Linked DNA regions of Homo sapiens: regions 1, 2 and 3 are each linked to region 4. Evidence: promoter capture Hi-C in human tissues and cell types (Jung and others, 2019). All regions are on one chromosome and are shown on one strand. The core of a region is centred on a gene start or on the middle of the fragment in contact, and the rest is flanking DNA. Distances in the headings are between cores, read along the strand shown.

The links. The method cuts DNA at HindIII sites, captures the fragments that hold promoters and counts their contacts. A contact is called where the count stands out against the background at its distance.
Region 1: a fragment that was not itself captured here is called in contact with the fragment with the promoter of PLCB1 in region 4 in 11 of the 25 tissues and cell types used here (H1 embryonic stem cells, IMR-90 fibroblasts, aorta and 8 more).
Region 2: a contact is called between a fragment that was not itself captured here and the fragment with the promoter of PLCB1 in region 4, in 3 of the 25 tissues and cell types used here (H1 embryonic stem cells, dorsolateral prefrontal cortex and heart right ventricle).
Region 3: a fragment that was not itself captured here is called in contact with the fragment with the promoter of PLCB1 in region 4 in 4 of the 25 tissues and cell types used here (IMR-90 fibroblasts, aorta, lymphoblastoid cells and 1 more).

What each region holds. Positions count from the first base shown.
Region 1 is chr20:8,665,459-8,668,491 of GRCh38, forward strand. All of the region lies in intron 9 of PLCB1 (phospholipase C beta 1), which reads left to right. Among named protein-coding and RNA genes, the nearest start is that of RNU105B, 160 kb to the right of the region's middle. The HindIII fragment of the contact is 3,580 bases long and covers 1-3,033 here.
Region 2 is chr20:8,648,432-8,651,394 of GRCh38, forward strand. PLCB1 (phospholipase C beta 1) reads left to right here. Exons shown (of 32, transcript NM_015192.4): 7 at 943-1,018. The region is part of intron 1 of LOC105372521 (a long non-coding RNA gene); the gene reads right to left. Among named protein-coding and RNA genes, the nearest start is that of RNU105B, 180 kb to the right of the region's middle. The HindIII fragment of the contact is 8,659 bases long and covers 1-2,963 here.
Region 3 is chr20:8,684,342-8,687,189 of GRCh38, forward strand. It overlaps PLCB1 (phospholipase C beta 1), which reads left to right. Exons shown (of 32, transcript NM_015192.4): 10 at 591-737. Among named protein-coding and RNA genes, the nearest start is that of RNU105B, 150 kb to the right of the region's middle. The HindIII fragment of the contact is 7,549 bases long and covers 1-2,848 here.
Region 4 is chr20:8,130,985-8,133,684 of GRCh38, forward strand. PLCB1 (phospholipase C beta 1) reads left to right here and starts at 1,282. Exons shown (of 32, transcript NM_015192.4): 1 at 1,282-1,766. The coding sequence starts at 1,668. RefSeq lists a silencer at 1,368-1,507. The HindIII fragment of the contact is 4,653 bases long and covers 1-2,700 here.

The DNA.
Region 1 (3,033 bases), core at 334-2,833, 530 kb after region 4:
GCTGTTTCTCATCTAACAGCCTTATTTAATGTACTGCAATTAAGGATAAGTATAATAATTTATTAATGAAACTTGAAAAAAATATGGCATGTCACATCTGTGCACAAATGGTCCTTTCTGACTCAATCATTCTTTTCTATACCTTTTTATTAAAATGGAATTATAATTATAGTCATAAGTGTAAGGATGTACACTTGACTCTTACTATTTACTTCATTATCACTTCAATTTCCTAGTAAATTTTTTGAATCATATTTTTCCAGCACCATTTCGCTTTACTAGGTAGAAGTTATAAAAACTAATGATGGTGATGATTATAATCTCTATTCTCCATCCTTGAAAGATCAAACATGCCCTAATTAAAGAAATAGGCTGGCATAGTGTCATGATGAAGCCAGTAAACCTCAGGCAAGAGACTTGACTTGTGTGAGCTTCAGGTTCTTCATCTGTAAAATGGGATGAGACCAGCAATGTAGCAGACACCTGTGCTATTCCCATGTCCCTTGGCAATCATGGTTCCAACCCAGCCACCTACACACTTGGCAACTCTTCAGGGCCTTCTATCAGTCCATCCACAGCCAGGCTACAATTCCCAGGGACTGCATGCCTCAGGAGTAGTTGAAGAATAAATACCTTATCTTCCATGCCCCTTGGGTTGCAAAGTTCTGATGTGTGTTCTCTGCTTTCTCCCAGAGTTCCTCGGTGAGACTGAGCCCTAACTGCCCACAGCTGTAACCTGCCTGATACCCTTCTCCTTCTTAGCTGCCTTTCCTTCTTGTCTCACTTCTCTTCTCTACTGTTGTTTCATAGGGTCAACTCCCAAAAAAGGTGCTTGCACTCAAATCCTTGTCTCAGATCCTGTTTTTGGAAGAACCCAAACTAAGACAAGCACTTTTCTATAAATGGCCTTAAGGGAATCAAAAGTGAAAGATGGGTAAGGTCAGAGTTGCTGAGCATTGAGAGAAAAAAAAATGGAAAGAGGCTGTGCCTCATCATTCCTGCCAACCTATCACGTTATTGTCTTCGTTGTTTCCAATCACGAAGCCCTGGCCAGTGGCCTCCAATCATAGATTTCCAGTCTACAAAGGACTTAGCCATTTAGCTTAGTCAAACTGTCAGTTTATTAGAAGAGGCAGTTTGCAGAAATGGCAATGTTGGGACCAAGACCATGTTTTCTTTGTCCCGCTACTCCAGACATCCACCTAGGCACTCCAACAGGACTTGCTTAGAAAAAAGTTGCAACACAGACCATTTAGAAGTTAGTGATCGATGTCTATAGCAGTGGTTTCCAAGCTGGTCCTAGACATAGCACCCTTTGTTTGTTTCTTCTAACAAAGTCTCGTGAGAAAGGCCAATGTGTAGGGAAAAGCTTTAAAGGTGCTGTCTTGGTGGAATAGAGGGGAGCCTGGAGTACAGGTGATGGTGGCTGTTGCCCTATCACTCTTTCTCCTCCTGACCTACCCCATTCTCTGCAGGGATGTCTGCCCAAACCCAGGGATATTCAGGATACTCAGTTTAAAAACCACTCCTCTGAAGGAAATACTGACTAGTTTAAAGATCTGCCTCACAATTAAGGTGGCATCCATTTAAGTCATTTTATATAGATTACCTACAAAGTAGTTGAGGAAACAGAACCGACGTGAATCAACAAAGTCAACACAAATAAGATCAATTTTCTCCCAAAAGACAAAAACAGAGGAAAACTATATGATGTAGCCAATGCTTTCATGCCTTAATTAAGTTACTACACTGAAAAAGCTGCTGAAAAGCTACTCTAGGATTTTATTGATCGAAATCTCATTTAAATTCCTCCTATTGACTCTCTAACCTCTGCGGAAGGTTACAGAAAAATGGCATTGTCGTCCCTGAGTGCATTCCAAGTTCTTCTTAACTTCATGTTTGGTATGTTCATAGACTTCTCTGAAATATTTCAGATTGCCTAAGAATGAAAAAAAAATTTTTCAAGATCGTCATTGTGGATCTATTGTTCATTGGTTGACTTGGCAACTCCCTTTGCTTTCCTTTCCGTTATTACATTTCCTTTATTCCCAGAAGGCAGGGCCTGGGCCTGAGGAAAGGCAAAGGCCTGGCCTAGGAATTCTGTTTCTTTTCTCCTTTATTTCAGTGACCTCAGTGTCTGCTCAGGCCCACAGCTCTGGCCAGAAAGTCACAGCCCTGTCTACTCACAGCTGAAATGTCCTTTGTTCAGAAAATAACCAGACAGGAAAAATATAAACAGTAAAAGGCAAAATCAAATGCCAGTCCACAGGATAGATAAGTGAGCTTGGTAGCCTCATCAACCCCATAGTCTGCTGAGTCTTGTTAAAACTTCTTTCCTTCATCACACCTTTCAGAGGTGCCTTGCCATTTCATGGGAGAGCTATTGGGACAGAGCAGAGAATGGCTTCTTTCCCCCTAGATGTGACCTCCCAGCAGAACACAGCATTGACAATTGTTGGCTAGTATAGCTTTCCCCTTGTCAGCAGGGTCTAGGAGCAGGTTGCAGTGCGTGTGGGGTGGGGTGGAGGGGACTCTGGCTCAGTCAAAACTGCCTGGCAGGTTGTACTGTGTTGGGAGGGAGAGAGGCCACAGGCGTTTGGCTCCTAACTTCGGCATTATCCAGGGTCTTGTCAATAGTCAATGTGATACAACAGATAAGTGGGAGGGAAATAGGTCGAATGCAGAAAAAAAAAAAGCAAACCACAGGGAAACCAGATTAAGTGAGGGATGGACCTTCCACCCTAACCCTTAATAGAAAAGCTGAAAAATGTACCATAGTAGGGAATCCTGCCAGGAAGTGGACAGTGACCAAGGATTTCAAAAATCTCTTATGGAGATTCTGGAAGGTCTGTCTTAACTCTGAATCACTACAGTCTCTAGGATGCCAGCTGTGACAGCAAAGATTATCTCCAAGCTAGGGATAGCATTATTTTAACAGGAGAGTTAATTGAGAATGATGGACAAAATCAAGCTTCTTACCTAAGCATTCTACCTTATATGTAGAAAATGAGCCCAAAAAATGCTTCTGAACAA
Region 2 (2,963 bases), core at 103-2,602, 520 kb after region 4:
CTCCACCATATATCCTGTGGGACTGGTGAGCACCTGACACTAGATTGTCTAATGTCTTTATAGAACCCATAAACCTAAATTAGTATATTAAATTGTCCAGTACTTAAGTTCTATTTTTAAATCAAATTAGTAACGAAAAAAAGTCCATCTCTAGGTCATATCCAGCCAAAAGTCTTTAACTTTTGACTTACAAGCTACTAGAAAGCTTCTGCGAATACACAAATTAAGCCAAGCACAGTGGCTCATGCCTGTAATCCCAGCACTTTGAAAGGCCAAGGCAGAAGGATTGCTTAAGGCCAGGATTTTGAGAGCAGCCTAGGCAACATAGTGAGACTCTATCTTTGCAAAAATTTTTAAAAATTAGCCAGGTGTGGTGGCACATGCCTGTAGTTCTAACTACTAGGGAGGCTGAGGTGGGAGGATCACTTGAGCATGGGAAGTGGAGACTGCAGTAAGCTGGGATCATGCCACTGCACTCCAGCCTGGGCAACAATGTGAGACCCTGTCTCTAAAAAAAAAAAAAGAAAGAAAGAAAGAAAAGAAAAGAAATTAATTTAAAAGTAAACAAATTAAAAATTAAATTTATTAATAATGCAATGTACACCTTGGGGCAATGGGTAGTAGCAGCAAGGGGACAGAATTAATAAGGATGTTTATTTTAGTGCTTAATATTAGAGATTATTTAATGCAATATTTTTTAATTGGGTCAGCACCATAATCCTAAAATACTGATTTTATACTAGACACCTTAATTTTAAAAGCACGCAGTTGATCTTTCAGAAGACAGATGCAAATGCATGGAGGAATGGTTATCTTTTAGTTCTTTAAATATGAATAATAAATAGATTTGACTGAATGGAATATTTTGAGTTGGCATCATCTGTTAGTGCTGTGATCCATGTGCCATTTAAACCTCTCTCCTTTGTTGTGTTCACTTCACAGCATATATCGCTTGTTTTCAGCAGATCGGAAGCGAGTTGAAACTGCTTTAGAGGCTTGTAGTCTTCCATCTTCAAGGGTGAGCATGTGTGTTATGCTATAGTTTGAATGTTCAGCCCCTCCAAAACTCATGTTGAAACTTAATCCCCAATATGACAGTTTTGAGAGGTAGGGCCTTTAAGAGGAAATTAAGAGCTTCCATGATTAATGGGTTAATGAATTAATGGATTATCATCGGAGAGGAACTGGTGGCTTTATAAGAAGAGAAAAACAGACCTGAGCTAGCATGTTCTTCCCCCTCACCATCTGATTCCCTGTGCCACCTCTGCCAAAGTGGAGAGTCCCCACTAGCAAGAAGACTTTTGCCAGATGTGCCCTCTCCACCTTGGACTTCCCAGCCTTTGTAACTGTAGGAAATACATTTTGATTCCTATATATTATACAGTTTCAAGTATTCTGCTATATGCATCAGAAAACAGAGTAAGACTGAAAATTGGTACCAAGAGGTGGGGTTTTTGCTGATAACAAATATCTGAAAATGTAGAAGCAGCTTTGGAACTGGGTAATGAACAGAGGCTGAAAAAAGTTTATAGAGCTAGCTAGAAACAGCCAAGACTTGGTGAGGCCTCTTTTCACTCCTATAACCCCAGTATTTCAATCTAGAATGACCCTTGCTTTTTGTAGATAAAAAAGTCACCTAATCAGGTAATATTTTTAAAATAGTCAAAAAAGGCTAACATTATCAAGATGACAATTTGAAATGTGGTTTCAAACTTATTAACAATAAACCCTTCTTGATGTTTTTTTTAAGATATTAGCTAATGATAGTGTTGAGTTAGGAGGCGAGACTCAACTCTGGTGGTGGGGTATGAACACCGGACCAAATTAAGGACCAGCTAAAACAGGGGGAGCGGAAGCAGCTTTCCATAAGATATGTCCATGTCAGTTTACCATTGCCAGGGCAACACCGAGGAATTACCACCGCTTTCCACGGTAATGATCCAATGACCCAAAAATTGCCACTCCTATCATAGAAATTTCTGTATTAACCACCCCTTAATCTACATGTGATTAAAAGTAAGTATAAATACAACCTCAAAACTGCCTGAGCTGCTACTCTGAGCACACTGCCTATGGAGTAGCCCTGCTCTGCGGGAACAGGCATGGAGCTGTAACACTGCTGCCTCAGTAAAGTTATTTTCTTCTACCCTACCACTGGCTCGTCCTTGAATTCTTTCCTGAGTGAAGCCAAGAACCCTCGCAGGCTAAGCCCTACTTTGGGGCTTTCCAGCCCTGGATCAGTGTGAAGCCGTTATGTTTAGGAAGATATTTGAAATATTAATTTCATCTCACCTTAGCATTTTAAAATGTTTAGTTTTAAGATGTATAAGCTATGTAAGCAATTAGTATGCTGCTATGTGCTTATAAATAAATATATTTACATACTTTACAGAGCTGTGCTCAGAAAGTTTTTACTGAGGGGGTGCAGGATCTAAACAGTTTGGATCTAAACACCTACTTTGCTCATACGGTGGTAAAGTAGGTGAGAGGACAAGCATGTAACATGCTTTCATTTTTATGCCTGACACACACAAGGTACATCATATACATTAACCACCTCAAATAAAATAATTTGCTTTCATTTTGATTCATTTCTACATGACTGGCTCTAAAATGATTTGTTACTATTGTTTCTGGAAGTCCATTGCATAAAATTTTTTTCTCGTGCAGAGCTCTCCTTTCATTATTTTTATCTGAGTATCTAAGCAACAAGGAAGCCTTTACCTAAGGGTAACATGACTTTATAGGAAGAACCTTTGAGCCCCTCAAAATGTGCCAGCAATGTTCAAGTTGCACTGAATAAGTTTGCAAAGCCATTCTTAGACTTATGATTGAATTATAAAAGTATTGAGTGCTATGGTTAAATTTATCAGCCAATTATTGTTGTGAAGACTTTTCAAAACAGCAAAGTTCATTAACAACTTTGGTGGGTCACAAGAAAGAAATAAGAGCACCTCTTCACT
Region 3 (2,848 bases), core at 188-2,687, 550 kb after region 4:
CACCTCCTGGGTGCAAGCGATTCTCCTGCCTCAGCCTCCTGAGTAGCTGGATTACAGGCGCCCACCATGCCCGGGTTAATTTTTGTGTTTTGGGTAGAGAGGAGACTTCGCCATATTGGCCAGGCTGGTCTCGAGCTCCTGACCTCAAGTGATCCACACGCCTCAGCCTCCCAAAGTGCTGGGATTACAGGCCACTTGTACATAATTTTGATTATAAAGTAACATACATTAATAAGAAAAAAAATTGAAAAATTACCCCAAATTCTATTACACAGAGATAAGCACTGATAACATTTTAGTGCCGATCCATAAAGTTAATACCAGTCTTACATTGGAAAACAGGAGGTTGGTGTTTATTTAAATCCTCTGAAAATTTGGTGGGGCTCATGTAACTACATGTTTTCTCTATTGTCTGTGACATTTGGAAATAATTGTAGTGAAACAGAATAATCCTACACTCTTATTTATCCATACTAAAATGTCTTCTACCTTGGACACTACAAGATATTTCTGGAAAAAAAAAAAAAAAGAGGCGACTTGACACCCATAAAAGAATGCATTCACATCCTTTCTAACTTCATTTCCTCCAGGACAAATATCAGTGGATGGGTTCATGCGCTATCTGAGTGGAGAAGAAAACGGAGTCGTTTCACCTGAGAAACTGGATTTGAATGAAGACATGTCTCAGCCCCTTTCTCACTATTTCATTAATTCCTCGCACAACACCTACCTCACAGGTATGAATTTTCTAGTTCTTTGTTACTTTAGCCAGTCTCACCAAATTTCACCAACCTCTACTTTCTGTTGTTCGGAAGCTGAAGTGTGTTTTCTTCCATTTCCTGCGAAGTGCCTCTGAGAACTCTGGGGTTCCACCACTAAAGCCTCCCGCCTCCCATAAGCAGTCATGTCCACATGTGTATGAAGCAATAGCATCATTTCTCCACAGCCTAAGTTTTTAAGTCTTCTAAAATGCAACCACGGCTGACATTTTCAGATCAATGGGATTTTTGTGTAACTGAACTCATTCTTCAGTGTACTTGAAGCCATGTCCAGTCCTACCCGGTTCTCTGGGCTGTGTTCATCTACATGACAGCTCCGAAGTTCTTAAGTGGTGGCTCATGCTTGTAATCCCAGCACTTTGGGACGGCGAGGCGGGCGGATCACCTGAGGTCAGGAGTTCGAGACCAGCCTGTTCAATATGGCGAAACCCCTGTCTCTACTAAAAATACAAAAAAAAAAAAAAAAATCAGCCAGGCGTGGTGGTGCGTGCCTGTAAACCCAGCTACTTGGGAGGCTGAGGCAGGAGAATCACCTGAACCCAAGAGGTGGAGGTTACAGTGAGCCGAGATCACACCACTGCACCCCAACCTGGGTGACAAGAATGAAACTTTGTCTCAAAAGAAAAAAAAAAGAATTAAGTAATTGCTTTTTGTTCAAGGTAGGACAGGGCTTTAGACAAAAACAAATTGACCTGTGAATGACAACTTATACTTTATTGTAAATATTATAATAAAGTAGGATAAAACATCAATGTGTTTCTAATCTGATCTTAAATTAAGCCTTGACCTATTTGGCAGTCTGGTGAAGTGTATGCACCCTTCTCAGAATGCTAAATGCATAAATTAAGTACCTAGAATTAAAGAGGAAATAAATTTCATTGAAATATTTTTATAAAATGTTATGATATATAACCTTGTGTATCTCAGTATTAACACAATTTAAATAAGTATAAGTAAAATGTTGTGATAATTTGCAACAATTGGAATATAATACACAGATCTTGCTAGTGACTTGTAAACTACATACTTAACTGAAGAGAATGTTAAATTTTGTGTAGAGGTTAAAATTAAAACTGTAACCATTCTTTCTCATCCAAGTTCAAGGAGGTTCATGGAATATCACTTTAACAGTCTAGATCTTTGACATGATAAAATTCAAAGAAGTATAATTTTTAAAATCTGAGCACATTATAGAATCTTACATTTATCCTATATTTAGGACCACAAAACTCAAAAATACTTAAATATATGTCCGGTTGAATTTTGGGTATTGTGTGTGATTTTGTTTAAGTGGAAGTCACAATATAGAGTAGATTTTTTACGAATAATCTTTTGAGTCCAAAATACCTTCCAACTGATATATTTATATTCATTACATTCTATTTTATTTGTCATATAATAAATGAGTCAGTAATACCAAAATGATTGAATGACAAGACTGATTGGATATACATTTTATTTTTTCACCTTCTTTCAGAGTATATTAATTTTTCCCTTTCTGACTATCACTAGGGTTTTCAGATTTTATGTATGTTCATTCAATCGCGGCTGCCATTCTCCTTTTGAGAGACCAAATTGTCTCAACTTTGGTTAGTAGGAGACATTTTTAGGCTATCATCTGTGTCCTCTTGACATGACCTATTAATCTTTGAAAGTGTTCTGGCACATAGAGATCTTCCAGACTCACCTTATTCCTTTCTGCTCCAGAGATGGAAACAGACTATTCTCCAGTGAGCCCTGGTTCTTTTTGATGGGAAAGAAAAAGTATGAGTAACAGCAATTTGGACCCTGAACATTGCCTGGACTGTTTCAGTGAACAAAGGAAGAAAAGATAATTTTTTTTTGTCTTTTTAAGGCACGAGTTCACATAAATATTTCTACTTCTACCTACCAATTTAAATTATTATTATTATTATTATTCTTGAGACAGGGCCTCACTCTGTTGCCCAGGCTGGAGCACAGTGGCATGATGATAGCTCACTGTAGTCCCGATCTCCTGGGCTCAAGCAATCCTCCCACCTCAGCCTCCTGAGTAGCTGAAACTACAGGCACGTGCCACCACACCTGGC
Region 4 (2,700 bases), core at 32-2,531:
TGCATGCCCACTCATTTTTATTGTGGAATAGTATTCCAATATTTGGGCATACCACAGTTTGTTTATCCATTCACCTGTTGATTGACATTTGCAGGCTACTAAGAAGAAAGTTCTTCACATCACTTTACAAGTCCCTGCAGACTTGAACGTTTTCATTTCTTTTGGACAAATACTTAGGAGTGGAATTTCTAGGTTGTATGATAAGTAAATATCTTACTTTATAAGAAACTATTCTCCAAAGTGGTTTTACTATTTTATATTCCCTCCAGCAATGAACAAGAGTTCCAAGCTATTTCTCTCTCCGCCCCCCCACCTCCCGCGTGTGTCTCTCTCTCTCTCTCTTTCTCTCTCTCACACTCACTCACTCTCTCTCTCCCTCTCCTCTCTCTCCTTAATAAAAAAAAAAAAAGAGTTCCAGTTGCTCCACATCCTTTCAAGCATTTGGTATTACCAGTCTTTAAAATTTTATCCATTCTGGTCCTCCTCTTTCCCTTCTTCCCTCCCTCCCTCCCTTTCTTTCTTGAATTGAGAAATGTTTGTGGAAGGAGTGAAGACAAACATTCCTGGACCTATGTTCCTAAATGAGCAAGTTTCTATTAATAAGACTCTCCCCCACCCGCCACACATCCTACACACTCAAGGAGAGGAGCGGGAGAGGGCACCCTCTTTCTTCCTCGGAAAATAAAACCTTTGCTTTCTTTAGGATGGGCTTTCTGTCTCGAAAGCACAACGTAACCGTTTGCCCGGGTTTCAAGATCAGCGCGCTGCAAACTCTCAGGCGCGGCCAGGTTTCCTCAAAGAGCCTCTCAACTGCGCTCTTCTCTGCTGATAAATGATAATTCTCTTCAAAAAGCTGGTTTGTGGCTGGCGCTGGAGAGCTCCAGCTAGAGCCAAAAGCCAGGGGTTGCCTCTTTGGTTCCTCCCGATGGGCCCCTTTTCCCAGCCAGTTGGGATCCAAAGACGCTCCGGAGCTCGAGCCCAAATTCCCAAGAAAACCCCAAAGAGCGTAAGGCTCCTGGGGACCCCTAGCACCTCTGCAACCAGGGCACGGGGCATGCTCAGAGCGAATGCGGGAGGCAGGCGTTGGCTGCAATGGGGCTCGGGAGCCAGGAGGTGCCGCTGCGTCCCCGCTTCCTGGCGCCTGACCCAGCGTGCAAAGTTGGGCTGGGAGCCGCGGGGGGAAGGAAGGACCCAGCGAGCGAGGGTGGCGGGGAAGGGGGGCGGGGGGGAGGAGGAGGGAGGAGGGAAAAGAGCGGTTAGGGGGGGCGCCGGGCGTGTGTCACTCGCTCTCTCCCTCTGTGTATAGAGGATGTGCTGAATGGTGCGCTTTGAGGCGGCGGCGGCGGAGGAGCAGAATCCGCCGCGACTGGCAGCCTCGGCTGACCGGCTCGGCTTCTCTTCGCCTTCCGAGGCTCCTCATCCACCGCGGGCTCCAGACCTCGCGTCCCGCCCGGGGCATGGCCGGGCGCTGCGCCCCCGCGCGCTCTGCCTGCTGAGCGGCGCCGGAGGGAGGTGCGGAGGCCGGGAGGCCGGGGAGGCCGGCGGGGAGCAGAGTCGAGCGCCTCCGGAGCAGAGAAAGGAGCCCGCGCCCCGCGCCCCGCGCCCCGCGCACGGTCCCCAGTCCCTGCCGCGCTCGCCCGGGCCGCCCGGAGCCCAGATGAGCCCAGATGGCCGGGGCTCAACCCGGAGTGCACGCCTTGCAACTCAAGCCCGTGTGCGTGTCCGACAGCCTCAAGAAGGGCACCAAATTCGTCAAGTGGGATGATGTAAGTATTGGGGCGGCCCGAGTCGGGGCGCTGGCTCGGGCACCGGGCAGGGCGGGCGTCGTGGGGGTGGGGCAAGGGGCGCGTTATGCAATGGGCGCACTGGGAGCGGGCAGGGGCAGCCTCGGGCGCACAGGTTGGCATCTGCCAAAGCGGATGTCCAAGGGCAGAAGCTTTGCGCGCGCTCCTGTTTCATCGGGCTTCAGTAGTTGCCATCCTTTCTGGGTCTGGCAGGCGCCCCCTGAGGGTCTTACATCTTTTGGGCCAGTGGAGAGGGAGGGGCAAGCTTTGCCTGGTGACAGGTCCTGAGAGTTCGGAAAGTAGGGAGTGTGAAGTTGGGACCAACTGGAAAGCGCCTGGTGTGAACAAATCGCGTCCCTCTCCGCCTGCGGACGCACCCCCTATTACCTCTTTTGCCCGATTTCAAGAAGGAAGGACCTGAAGTTCAAAACACTTTAGTGATTGCGAACCCTCTTGGCGCTTTTGTGGGAGCCAAGGCGGCGGAGGACACAACGGTCCAGCCAACAGGTGGTCGTTGATGCCAAACTTCAGCGCCTGGCTCCGGAGTGAGGGTCCCTGAAAAGGGCTGCGGGGACACATCTGGGGAGGGCGTGAACAGAATGGGGGCCCTTGAGGGGTCCTGGAGGGCTCATGGGCCTGCAGGCAAGTGGGGAGGGCTGACTTTTGAGAACTGAGCTGATTGGAGTCTTCTGCCTGAAATAGACAGGTTGAGAGTTTGCCCCACGATTTACCTGCACCGTTTGCCAGGTAGGGCAGAGCCTAGCCCAGCGCCGGGGTCTCTAATGCTTTACGAGCGGCCCAGACCCCAGGACTTCAAATGACTTCCCCTTCCCCTCTACCCCAGTTGTCTTCAAAACACGTAAATTAGTTATCCAGCTGAAAACATGCGAATCTTCGGATGGAGAACATTATGGTA